2 separate regions of the Homo sapiens genome follow, and region 2 is linked to region 1. The links are contacts of gene promoters, found by promoter capture Hi-C in blood cells and fetal thymus (Javierre and others, 2016). All regions are on one chromosome and are shown on one strand. Each heading gives the region's core, a stretch centred on a gene start or on the middle of the fragment in contact. The rest is flanking DNA. Distances are from core to core; before and after follow the strand shown.

The links. Contacts are between HindIII fragments. The CHiCAGO score rates a contact against its expected background, and 5 or more counts as called.
Region 2: a contact is called between a fragment that was not itself captured here and the fragment with the promoter of RPL27A in region 1, in 1 of 17 cell types (neutrophils). The highest score is 6.8, in neutrophils.

Annotation. Positions count from the first base shown.
Region 1 is chr11:8,678,616-8,684,041 of GRCh38, forward strand. It overlaps RPL27A (ribosomal protein L27a), which reads left to right and starts at 4,177. Exons shown (of 5, transcript NM_000990.5): 1 at 4,177-4,201; 2 at 4,587-4,650; 3 at 5,391-5,426. The coding sequence starts at 4,199. TRIM66 (tripartite motif containing 66) reads right to left here and starts at 4,050. Exons shown (of 25, transcript NM_001388022.1): 1 at 3,986-4,050; 2 at 1,286-1,448; 3 at 1,005-1,199. RefSeq lists enhancers at 3,607-4,806, 3,670-3,739, 3,940-4,129, 4,456-5,098 and a silencer at 4,250-4,449. The HindIII fragment of the contact is 2,972 bases long and covers 1,599-4,570 here.
Region 2 is chr11:20,387,372-20,394,482 of GRCh38, forward strand. It overlaps PRMT3 (protein arginine methyltransferase 3), which reads left to right and starts at 345. Exons shown (of 16, transcript NM_005788.4): 1 at 345-403; 2 at 648-783; 3 at 2,373-2,455; 4 at 4,840-4,889; 5 at 5,526-5,628. The coding sequence starts at 376. RefSeq lists enhancers at 53-222, 96-703, 704-1,310, 1,166-1,215 and a silencer at 56-615. The HindIII fragment of the contact is 1,671 bases long and covers 2,959-4,629 here.

The DNA.
Region 1 (5,426 bases), core at 2,927-5,426:
TGAGCTTTTCTCTAATTCTCACTTGGAAAAAAAGCAGAAACACTGCTTCTTCCCATCTTGATTAACAGTGCTCTACTTAAAAAAGAAAACGAACATATTTCCAAATGTCCACATCTAAAGATGGAGAGCAAGAAAACAGAGCTGGATTCATTCAGGATGTTGCTGCTATCTGAAGGACTGATGTCGAATTCAGGAACCCAGTGAGGAGAGAAAGGAAGAGGGATCACCAGGGCCTTCTTCAGGGTGATGATGTGTTCCCAAGGCCACCTGGAGAGAGGCCTGGGGCAGCAAAAAATCAGCACACTTGCCTGCCTCACCAGGCTGCTGTCTGGTATCATCTCTTCCGTTCATTTCTGAGGTATTTTCTGAGGCCCTCACACTCTGAGGAAGCCCAGATGCCTGAGATGTCACAAAGCCATGCTGTACTTCAGAAGAGATGTCACAGAGAAGGACACCCCTCAGGAGTCATGGCCAAAGGTCATGTCCCATGTGCCTAGCTGGGAGGGACAGGTCCCCTAATGCCAAATATCTGGCTGCTACTCCACTTTGCAGACAGAAAACTCAGCTTTGTCTGCTCTCTCAGACCTCTGTCAACCTAGGAAAAGTGACACACACTGAACAAACACCACATGAGCTGTGTGTTTAAGTCATGTGGTTGCCTTTTGAAGGAGAGGGAGCTGGATAGAAAACTGGATTGAGCCAGACAACTACCCAGGGTACTCCCTCTACAACCAGATCAAGCCATTGATGAGAAGAATGTTAGGTGAACACAGAACCCAACGGGTAGTGCTGGGTCCACTCTGGGAGGCCTTCTGTTCAGCCGCGTGACCTGAGGGACAGAACGTAGCTCCTCTATAACCAAGGAACCTGGCAAACTATCCAAGAGGAGTGTCTTAGCACCCAGAACCCTACCTCAACCCCTTGCAGTGGTGGTCCTTATTGTAGGCCCCAGCTCTAATACCACTGATGGTTCCCTTTCATTCCCAAGGCCCTGCCCAGCTTACCTCCATTGACAGATCATCTTCCCAAGGTTAGGTTCCAGGTAACCCAGCTCATTTCTTGTGCACTTACTGGCCAGTTTTGATGTCAAATAGACGACGATGTCTTCTTTGATCTCCCCTCCTATTCTCAAGACCCCTCTTCCTGCTGGTCACATGCAGTATGTGATTAAGGTTGATGGAGGGATGAAGACCATAATGCTGTAAGGTCAGAGAGGGACTGGTCACTGAGGTAAAAGCAGGGGATCTGGAGAGAGAAGACTAAAGGCTAGGCCCAGGCTCTGTACCTGACCACCTATGCAGCGTCTGACAAGTCACCCAATTCTTCTGTGCTTCAGTTTTCACACACGTAAAATGAGGCTGGTAGTGCTGTACCTTCAGGCAGATGTATTTTGTAAATTGCCAAGTGCTCTGAAAATGTTGGTTGTTATCCTTGTGGACTGAAGTGTTCTGGGAAGAAGCAGAATATAAAGTTGGCCTTAAAGGTTGAGGAAGATTCAGGACATGTGGTCAGGAAGAGGATGGGCACTCCGGGATGGGAAACAGCATGAGCAAAGGCAAAAATGCAAATGGGATATACCAGGCACGGCTGCAGTAGAAAGCTTGTGTAAGGGAGAGGCTGGGGTAAGGCTGGAAAGGCAAGTGGGCTATATTCTGTTGGTCATAAGGAGCTACCGAACTTTTTGATCAAGTAAAAGAATGAAAGTCATGTTTTCGGAATACTAACGTGGTGGAGGTGTGAAGGATACAGAAATTGGAGGAGGGTTAGAATGCAGGCAGAGTGAACAAAGGAAGGTGTTGTAAACTCCAGTTAAGAGATATGATGGGGGCCTGAATGAAGGCAGGGCACTAAGGCTTAAACAGAGGAAGCACATTGGGGAGATACAGAAACAAAAGGATAGGGTGACAGTGTAGTAGAAGAAGAGAAGGCTTGGGGACAATTTTCATTATCTAGGTGGACAATGGTGCCACTCACCAAGACAGAGAATAAAGGAGAAGGCACCAGTGAGCAGTGCAGATTGAGTTCTTTGGATATGTTTACTTTGTCTGTAGAATGTCCAAGGAATACTAACCAGTAATTAAGTGACCATATGGGTGTGGAGCTCAGCAATAAGGATGTGAATTGAAGCCACCCAAGAAGACCATGTACTGTGAAAAGATAAGGACAAGGACAGAAGGCTGAGGAACATCAACATTCAAATGGTGGACAACGCTGGATGGAAGAACCTGAAAAGAAGACTGAAAAGTGACCAAAGAGTAGGAGGAAGGCAAGACTTTTTCTAGAAAAAGACGCCAACAGATTAAAGTACAACAGAAAGAACAAGTGATATGAAGAATAGGAAGAGTCCAATTTGGCAATTCGTTCATTAATGACATTAGTAAGAGCAATTTCACTGAAGTCACAGGCTGTGAGCTAGACCGCAGTGAACAATGGATGGGAAGGTGCAAATGGGCAGGATTTGTAGACTACTCTTTTGGGGAGCTTGGCTGTAAGGGCAAGGACATGGGAGAATTTTGGAATTTTTTTTTTTTTTTTTGAGACGGAGTCTCGTTCTGTCGCCCAGGCTGCAGTGCAGTGGCGCGATCTCGGTTCACTACAAGCTCCGCCTCCCGGGTTCACGCCATTCTCCTGCCTCAGCCTCCCGAGTAGCTGGGACTACAGGCGCCCACCACCACGCCCATCTAATTTTTTGTATTTTTAGTAGAGACGGGGTTTCACCGTGTTAGCCAGGATGGTCTCGATCTCCTGACCTCGTGATCCGCCCGCCTCGGCCTTCCAAAGTGCTGGGATTACAGAAGTAAGCCACCACGCCCGGCCAGAATTTTGGATATTTTAGCTAAAATATATTTTAGCTGAAGGGGGCAAGACAAAGAAAAATAAATAAATACACGCTCACACATACACACAGAGAATAACTGAGGGGATGGGATTTTAAAAATTTATTTCATTTTTCCCATGGGATCTATTAATAGACTAGCGAGGGGATGGGATCTTGAACACTGGTTGAAGGAACCGACTTAAGAGCGAAGACATGCTGCTATTAGCGAAGACAGGGAGGTGAGGGTAAGTTCATTTATTCACTCAACAATCACTAGTTGAGTGTGGATTAAAAAAAACAGTCCTTGACCACATAAGGAATTAGGTCTAGTAGGGAAGACAAACGTAGGTCAATAAATTACATAAGGGTTATACTAGATTGTGTGGTGGTACAGGTGGGGAAGCGAGCAACTGTCTGCATTGTGTCCAGGAAAGGGTCACAGGCGTGTTATGTAGATTCTGGAGAAAATTCAAAAATAGCATTTATTTTTACTTATTTACTTTTGTATGTGGAGACGAGGGTCTCACTATGTTGCCCAGGCTGGTGTTGAACTACTCGCCTCAAGAAATCCTCCCGCCTCGACCTCCCAAAGTGTTGGGACTACAGGTGTGAGCCACCGCGCCTGGCCTAAATGTGGCATTTAGAAAAAGTATTTACAACATCTGCATTAAAAGGACCATAAAGCAACCAGGCATCTAAGTCCCTGAAGCAATTTAAGTTGCTCAAACTTGAGAGGACAACCAAATGATAGCAAAAGGGCAAAAGAGAAAGGAAGCTGCAGTGCCCACTCAGAAGTGTGAGAGCGGGAGAAGGCATTTCGGGAGCCGCCCGAGCTTCAGGAAACCGAGCGAGACACCAGGTGGGCACACTGAGGATTAAAGAGGGCCTCGCGGTTCCGCACTGCGGCCGGGAGACAAACCAGTAGCCACTATCACCAGCCCCGGGCAGACCACTAAGAACTGTGGAGGTGCGCGGGGCGGCTCAGGGCTGGCGCATTTGGTGAGGAGCTCAGACAACGAGGCCCTTAGGGTCGGCTTAGGCGGTTCCCTGACCAAGGCGCCAGAAAAGGGCCTGGCTCAAGCAAGCACGGGCGGCGTGCAGTACAGCACACCTAGCCCCGATTCTTCAACAGTTCTCGCCCTCCGAGCCTAGCACAACGAGCCTCACCGAAACCGTACACCGCCACCAGGACACTCCGTGATGGGGGATCACCACCCTCAGAAAGAGGAAGCGACTAGCAGGCGCGCAATCCCGCGAGACCAGGAGGCCCCGCCCGAAGCCCGGCCTCTGTGACCGGAAGTGAGGCGTTTTGCCCCGCCCCCGTGGCCGATACCTCGCGAGACTTGGCGAAGGCCTTCCTTTTTCGTCTGGGCTGCCAACATGGTAGGTGTTTCGTTTCTTGCCTCCTCTTCCTTGCCGGCGGAGACCCCTAAGCTGTATTCCCATTGCCCCTAGTCATCCACTCCCTACCATGGTCGGGGCTTCCAGGCTGCGCATGGCCGCCTGCGGGGCAGGGTGGCCGGCGCGGGCCCGGGGCGGGGCTCCCGGAGCCGTGTGTTAGGCCCGCGGTTCGGATCTCTAGGACACGCGGGCCCCTGCGCTACCGTGGTGAGACCTCACGGCCCTGAGCGGATCGGTACCCTCAGCTTTCCCAAACGCTCCAGAAGTTAGGTCTTTGACCCACAGGCTTACAGGACCATCTCGGCTGGCGGGCATCGCCCCCTGCCCCTAATTCCTTAGGCCTTACCACCAAGCTTTTTCCACACAGCCATCCAGACTGAGGAAGACCCGGAAACTTAGGGGCCACGTGAGCCACGGCCACGGCCGCATAGGTAAGTGCCGGCTTCCCCTCGGGGTGGGCCTTGGGCTCTCTTCGGGTGCTTAGCTAGTCTGGAGATCGGTAGCCTATAAGTGGGTTAGAATAAGACCTTTTTGTGGTCAAGTTGCACAGCTGTTGATTTTTTTCTGACGATCCTCTAGTATTCCAGTTCTAAGGAATTTCACATCAGTGGGGTAATAGGAATTGAGCAGGCACGGTATTGGGTTAGTTGAAGACATGGAGTACTGTGGGAATGCTGTGATGTGGAACCTGAAAAGATGTTTCACCCGGAATCCTAAAGTAATCGCATTGCTGAAAACCGGCATCGGTAGGGTGGGAACAGCGTAAGCGGGACACAGAAGTCTGGGAAACACTCTGCTTTTGTGCGAGGAAGTATTGAGATGCATGAGAAGGCTGTGTGGTGCATGTAGCTTTTTTGTGTGTGTGTGAGACTGATCACTGTCGCCCAGGCTGGAGTGCAGTGGCGAAATCTCGGCTCACTGCAACCCCTGCCTGCCGGGCTCAAGCGATTCTCCTGCCTCAGCCTCCCGAGTAGCTGATATTACAGGTGTGCGCCACGACGCCCGGCTAATTCTTTTTCTATTTTTAGTAGAGTCGGGGGTTTCTCCGTGTTGGCCAGGCTGGTCTCGAACTCCTGACCTCAGGTGATCTACCCCCCCTCGTCCTCCTAAAATGCTGGGATTACAGGCATGAGCCATCACACCGGCCCCACGTAGCTTTGTATTCCTGCAGGCAAGCACCGGAAGCACCCCGGCGGCCGCGGTAATG
Region 2 (7,111 bases), core at 2,544-5,043, about 12 Mb after region 1:
GCGACCTCCCACTAACGCCTGCCGCAACCCAAGGAGGAGACAAAAGTCATCTTCCGGGCTGCAACATTAACCGTCATCAGCGCGCCTCTTCAGCGCGCACTGCGCCAACCCTGCGGCAGGAGGAGGCGGAGCCCCCGCTCTCGCCCCGCCCCCACCTCACGTGACCCGCACGGCGCCTCGAGGCCGGAAGCGATTGCGAGCCAGCGCGCGCGCTTCGGCGTTCCCGGCGGTCTGCGAAGTTTCCGGAGCCCGGGTCCCGCCGCGGGTTCGCGCTTGTGCTCGCGCTCGTTCCTGGAGTCGGCGGCCGCTGCGCGCGCTCGTTGCCCAACCCGGTCCCCGCCCCCAGACACGCCGGGCTCTCGGGGCACCACAGCCATGTGCTCGTTAGCGTCAGGCGCTACCGGTGGGTACCCTGGCCCCTCAGCACCCGGCTCGTCCAGCCCCAGGCCGCGCCGCTGTGGGGCCGGTGGAAGACCCTCCGGGACACGGGCCCGGGCAGGGTGGGGGGCTCGCAGGGATCATGAAGGAGGTGCTGAGTGAGGGCCGCGGGCGAACGGGGCGGAGGAGAGCCCATCGTCACCTGCTCCTCGAGCCCCCGGGCCGCACCGGTGTCCGAGGCCGATCTGATTGTTGTGTGTGTGTGTTAGGCGGCCGGGGCGCTGTGGAGAATGAGGAGGACCTGCCAGAACTGTCGGACAGCGGGGACGAGGCCGCCTGGGAGGATGAGGACGATGCAGATCTCCCCCACGGCAAGCAGCAGACCCCCTGCCTGTTCTGTAACAGGTTCGTCCGCCTCAGCGCCTGGCCTCTGCCCTAGGGTGCCCGGGCGCGTGGGGTCTGTGTGCCCAGGAACGCCTTCGGGCGGGAGGCAAGCCAGAGTGGCCTGTCTTTGAATTCTGGAACCACTGGTCTGGGGTGAGGGCTTGTGGAGAAGGAGGACCCTCGGTAGTAGAGAGGGGGAACCGTGAACTGGAAGGCCGGTTGTACTGCAAGCTTTTGACTGGTAGTGCATTGAATCTGTGGTTCCCAAATCTTGTCACTTGAGACGCTGAAAACAAAATGATACTGAACTCTGCACCTGAATCCTTCCAAGTCAGGGATGGGGTCTAAGAATATTCTGTTTTTATGAGGACAAGATCGGAAGTAACAGTGAAGTTACTAACGAGTTACTACTAACGAGTAACATATTTGGCAGCCACCCTGAACTAGATAATCCCTACGGAGCCTTCCGGCTTTACCATGCTAATTCTTTGACCAGTACAGAGCTTCTCAGGTGAAACATTTCTTTTTTATTTGAGCGGTTTCCATAGTCTAAGAAGGAAGTTCACCTTACTTAAGTAGGACTTTTCACTTAAGGAAAAAGACTGTAGTATCAATAATTTGCTCAAGGTCACAAAGCTGTGGTGTGCTTATTTCCAAACTCACATTCTTGCCACTTAAAATTCTGCCTGTTAGTCTTGGGAAGCTTTGGCTCCTGTCCTAGGCAAGTAGGCATGAAAGAGGCCCGGTTGGCATTGGCCGGTGTTACTTTAATACATTTTCCAGTGTTCCCTGTATCTGGGCATGGTGCTGAGTGGTGGTGCGTTAGTGTTCTCATCTGTAGCCCCATTGGGTAGATAGAATGCCTGTATATATTCTAGTTGTCATAAAATATTTATTGAGCACCAGTGGTACCGTGGCTGTGATAGCCTCCATAAATAGTCGACATAACCTATCTCGGTAAACATTTGTGGAAAACTAATGCTCCACATGTGTTAGGAATATAGATAAGGTATACAGCTTCTCTGCTGTGTATTCCTGTCTTTAAGTAGCCTTCAGATTTGCATGTCACATAATAAAGAGGATTGATCCTCACAGTGTCTGTGATGCAAGTACGTTGGGAATACTACAAGATCACTTTTGAAATAAGGCACTTGGGGAGTATGCCAGCTGTAAAATTACATTTTATGCTTTATTTCTAAAAGCAGTTTGAGCTGTGCCAGTTCAAAGCCTCTGAAAGCAGAGTTGACACTTAGAGGAGAAAAGAATCTCAAGTAGAGAAATTGTATGACTTGAGAGAAACAGACTCTATCAAAGGGAACTCTCTTAAAAGCCTTTTGATAAAATCAGTGATATTATTTGACAAATAAATTCACTTTGACATTTAAAGGATAATTGGTTTTAGGTATAAAATGGGACTCAGAAGTACTAATTCCCTTTAAAAGTGCTGGATTCCCTTCCTTTCAGATACAAGTGTGTTTGTTTTTTCTTAATTGGAAGTAAAACTAGAAACCAGCAGAGTTAAAAAAAAAAAAAAAGTGTATATGTAACATGAAATCAGTATTTAGACTTCTTAGGGGACTATTCCATGAAGCTATTGCTTGATTTTTCAGGTTATTCACATCTGCTGAAGAAACATTTTCACACTGTAAGTCTGAGCATCAGTTTAATATTGACAGCATGGTTCATAAACATGGTGAGTAGTTTTTAGAATAAAGGCAATTTAATTTGTGAAATTTGGGCAGGCATGGCAGCTCACACCTGTAATCCCAGCACTTTGGGAGGCTGAGGTGGGTGGATCACTTTAGGTCGGGAGTTCAAGACCAGCCTGGCCAACATGCTGAAACCCCACCTGTACTAAAATACAAAAGTTATCTGGGTGTGGTGACGCACACCTGTAATAGCAGCTGCTCAGAAGACTGAGGCAGGTGAATTGCTTAAACCTGGGAGGCAGAGGTGGCAGTGAGCTGAGATGGTATCACTGCACTCCAGCCTGGGCAACAGAGTGAGACTCTTCTCAAAAAAAAAAAAAATCTGTGAAATATAAGTTCAGATTTTATAGTTTTTCAGACCCTTTTCTGTACGAGTTTAATATGGCGAATCACACAGCAACATCTTGTGGAAATGGAGTTTTTTTGACAAGCGGTCCTTGAGAAAAGATGAATAAGTCACTCTTCTAGACAAGATTCACTGTATTTAAGCTTATATTAGCTTTTCAACTAAAAACAAAAACAGACTTGGCATGTGATTACATTTTTACATTTTATGTGATTACATATTAGATTTAGGGAGAGCAAGTGTAGATGTAGGACTTGAAAAAGGACGCAGGTCATTTGAAAAAAGACAATCAGCTCAAAGCATGACATGAACTTCACAGCCTACGAGACTGAGTTTTATACAAAGTTCGGTAGAGACTGGAAAAAGAGTGATGAAGTTAAGATTAATATGCAAAATACTCAGGTGATGTTTCTATTGAAACTTTTATTTAAACACACTTGCCTTACAATTAAGGCCTTCCACTTTAAATGGATGTAGAAGAGCTATACTACAATAAAATTAACTAAATAGGCCAGGTGCTGTGGCTCACGCCTGTGATTCCAACACTTTGGGAGGCCAAGGCAGGTGGATCACAAGGTCAAGAGATTGAGACCATCCTGGCTAACCCAGTGAAAACCTTTGGGAGGCCAAGGCGGATGGATCACAAGGTCAGGAGATCGAGACCATCCTGGCTAACCCAGTGAAAACCCAACTCTACTAAAAATACAAAAAATTAGTCGGGCATGGTGGCATGTGCCTGTAGTCCCAGCTACTTGGGAGGCTGAGGCAGGAGAATTACTTGAACCCGGGAGGCGGAGGTTGCAGTGAGCTAAGATCATGCCACTGCACTACAGCCTGGGTGACAGACTGAGACGCCGTCTCAAAAAAAAAAAAATAATAGGTTTTTTGGTCCCTATATTTGTTGACAACTAAGAAGGGACATTACTGAAGAATAGCAAATACTAACAGGTGTTTCAGTGTCAGATAAATACGTGATATCACATGTTTATAAATCATAAATTCAACTGCAAGTACTTTCGTAAGGCATAAATGACAGCCTCATTTTTTAATGTTTTTTGTTTTTGTTTTTTTTTTGAGACGGAGTCTCGCTCTTGTTGCCCAGGCTGGAGTGCAATGGCACGATCTCGGCTCACTGCAACCTCCGCCTCCCGGGTTCAAGTGATTCTCCTGCCTCAGCCTCCCAAGTAGCTGGGATTATAGGCATGCGCCACCACACTGGCTAATTTTGTATTTTAGGAGAGACAGGGTTTCTCCATGTTGGTCAGGCTGGTCTGGAACTCCCGACCTCAGGTGATCCGCCTGCCTTGGCCTCCCAAAGTGCTGGGGTTACAGGCATGAGCCACTGTGCCCAGCCTTAATGTTTTTAATGTTGCATTTCTAAAGTATTAGAATCATACTTAAGATAGAATTTTGTTTTGTTTTTTTTTTACTTACCGATATAGGGGGTTTGTATACTATTAAAGTTTTCTCATAACAAGAGTTTTATGACAAATAATTGGTTGGTTGGATGTATTACTGCTTTCCTTTGTTTTAAATGCTGCTTCATTTCTGGAAAGATACGAGAACCAGATAACAAGCCTTATTGGGCTTGCATCATTTAACTTCATGTAAAAGCTAGTATACACCATGTCCTGGCAAAATTATAATTTGATACACACCATAAAAATTAGGGATTTAATACTTTCAGCTCTGATATCAGTTGCCAAATACTTGGTAAAATGTGGATCTTAATTTTCCAGATTTGTATTGTTCTGACAAAGGAGGAGTAGAATTTTAGAAATCAGTTTTCCATCTTTTTAGAAATACTAGAAAAGCTTTAATTTGTCATTTATGGCTGCTTCTCAAGATATTCAGAAGTATCATTGTATTACTACTTCTAATTCTTAATAAAATTCAAAATATAAGTAGTAATTTAGAGGTCAGAATTATTTTATTGTTTAATCAGAGAAGGCTTTATAGAATAGGTCAGTTAAACAAAACTCATTATGTTAACATAGGTGAATTATCTTTTTCCCCCTTTAGGACTTGAATTTTATGGATACATTAAGCTAATAAATTTTATTAGACTTAAGGTAAGTTGACAGCTTAATTTATAATTTCGTTTAGAAATCAAAGAAATGCTACAGTGACTGTCAGTGTACTGATTATTTAAAAGAATATGAGGAACTGCATTAAATTTGGTACTCATCATATTGGGGGAATCACGGACATTAGGAGGTAGCACAGCAGAAAGCACCATGTAAATGTCTACCATAACTAACAAATATTGTTTTCACTGCATCTAAGAGATGAATCGGTGTATGTGAAAAAGTAATTCAGTGTCAAATAAAGGGAAATACTGATGGACAGGATCTGTAAAATCAGAAATAATTTCTAATGTGATTTTAAGTATTTTGGTTGCTCTTTTTTATTCTGTTTTTTTTCAGATACTTTGTTTTTTTTTTTTTTTGTCCTGTTTAAATGAATGTTTAATGACATGACAACGCTTTCCCCAAATCCAAACAGTAAAAAAAACTCTGCGTTGAAACTGCTGGTTAAGCAGTCGTCCAGCAAGTTAATGAAATGACAGGCACGTAGACTTTTTGGAGACATACTGACTTTGTGTAATGCAAACATGATTTCCTTTTTGTTTAATTTCTGTAGTTTTTACTAAGGGGATTTTGTGATTATATGTAATGAAAAAAACATGAGATTAATTTTATATCCAGAATCCTACAGTTGAGTACATGAATTCCATATACAACCCAGTGCCTTGGGAGAAAGAAGAGTATTTGAAGCCAGTATTAGAAGATGACCTTTTACTTCAATTTGGTAAGATGAACATAAGTGTATCTCCTTTAATTAACATAAGGCCGTTTGTTAACGGCAAAATGGAGGTAGAGTGTTTTAGGAAAAGACATGCTTTTTAAAATTATCTAAATGCTTCATCAGGTAGTTAGTTTCAGTAGAAAAGTTAAGTTGCTTAAAAACTAATAGTCGGCCAGGTGTGGCGGCTCACGCCTGTAATCCCAACACTTTGGGAGGCTAAAAGGGCAGATCACGAGGTCAGGAGATCCAGACCATCATGGCTAACACAGTGAAACCCCATCTCTACTAAAAATACAAAAAATTAGCCGGGCATGGTGGCGGGCTTCTGTAGTCCCATCTACTCGGGAGGTTGAGGCAGGAGAATCACTTGAACCTGGTATACAGGTGACAGAGCAAGACTCTGTCTAAAAAAACTAAAAACTCTGTGATCAAAAGATTGTCTGGTTTTGCCTTTAATTGCTTCATGTATTTTGGAGCTCTTATGTGAGGTTTATACACATTTATAATTGTTATATTTTACTGAAAAATTGGTCAGCCTTTGCAGTAATTCTTCTCTGCCCGAAAGAAGTATCCAGGTGATTTGAACATCCTGAGACAGAAGGTAGATGTAGATGTTCATCTTTCTGAATATGGTTTAGGCCTTTGAATTAGACTGTTCTAGCAAATTGTAGTTAGGAATCTTAATATTTACTGAATCCTCTTTTTTTCAAATCTCTAAGTTTAATCTTTAATATATAATTATCTGCATATTCTTAACATTAAAAAGTTTTTATTATGACTAATTTTTATTGCAGCAGAAAGCAAAACAGAAACTGGCCAAACAGTTTGAAGAATTTTGAAATCAAAATACAAAATGAGGTTTGTAGTAGGAAGTAGAAAATACAGTATACCAGCCTTATATAGTTTGGAAATATTTTGTTGTGCTGATTAATTTTTGGTGAATTAGATAGTGAATGATGCAGTTTTTAAACCTCAGTGACTCAATATTCTGCCACAGTGATGAGAAGTTAGTGACACCCTGCACTGCTTTTATAACAAGAATTCAACTTAGGCTGTAGTCTCTTATAGTATAATGCATTCGTTTGGCTTAGCTATTTTGTCCTAATTCCAAGGACGTGTCTTCACAACTAAAAAATGAATAGGAATTTTTACGAAGTCACATTTCTTCCAGTGCTATCCTGAGGGGAAAATGTAATATTTGCACTGCTCACTGCCTTAAGTTGATCCGAAAGTTAGATCAGTAAATGGACACTGATTTTGTGAAATTCACTAACTACATATATTAACTTCTCTTTGTAGAGAAGTGAAATTAAAATTAAATACTAGGAATTAGGATATTTAATAATATCAGCAATAAGACTTTAGTGTATAGATTTCACTCCACCTTGCCCAGGATGAAAAATTATTGAATGTGTAGAATTCTTTACACGCTGTCCTTAGGAATGTTTTTTTTTTCCTCCAGTTTTATTCAGGTATAATTGATAAG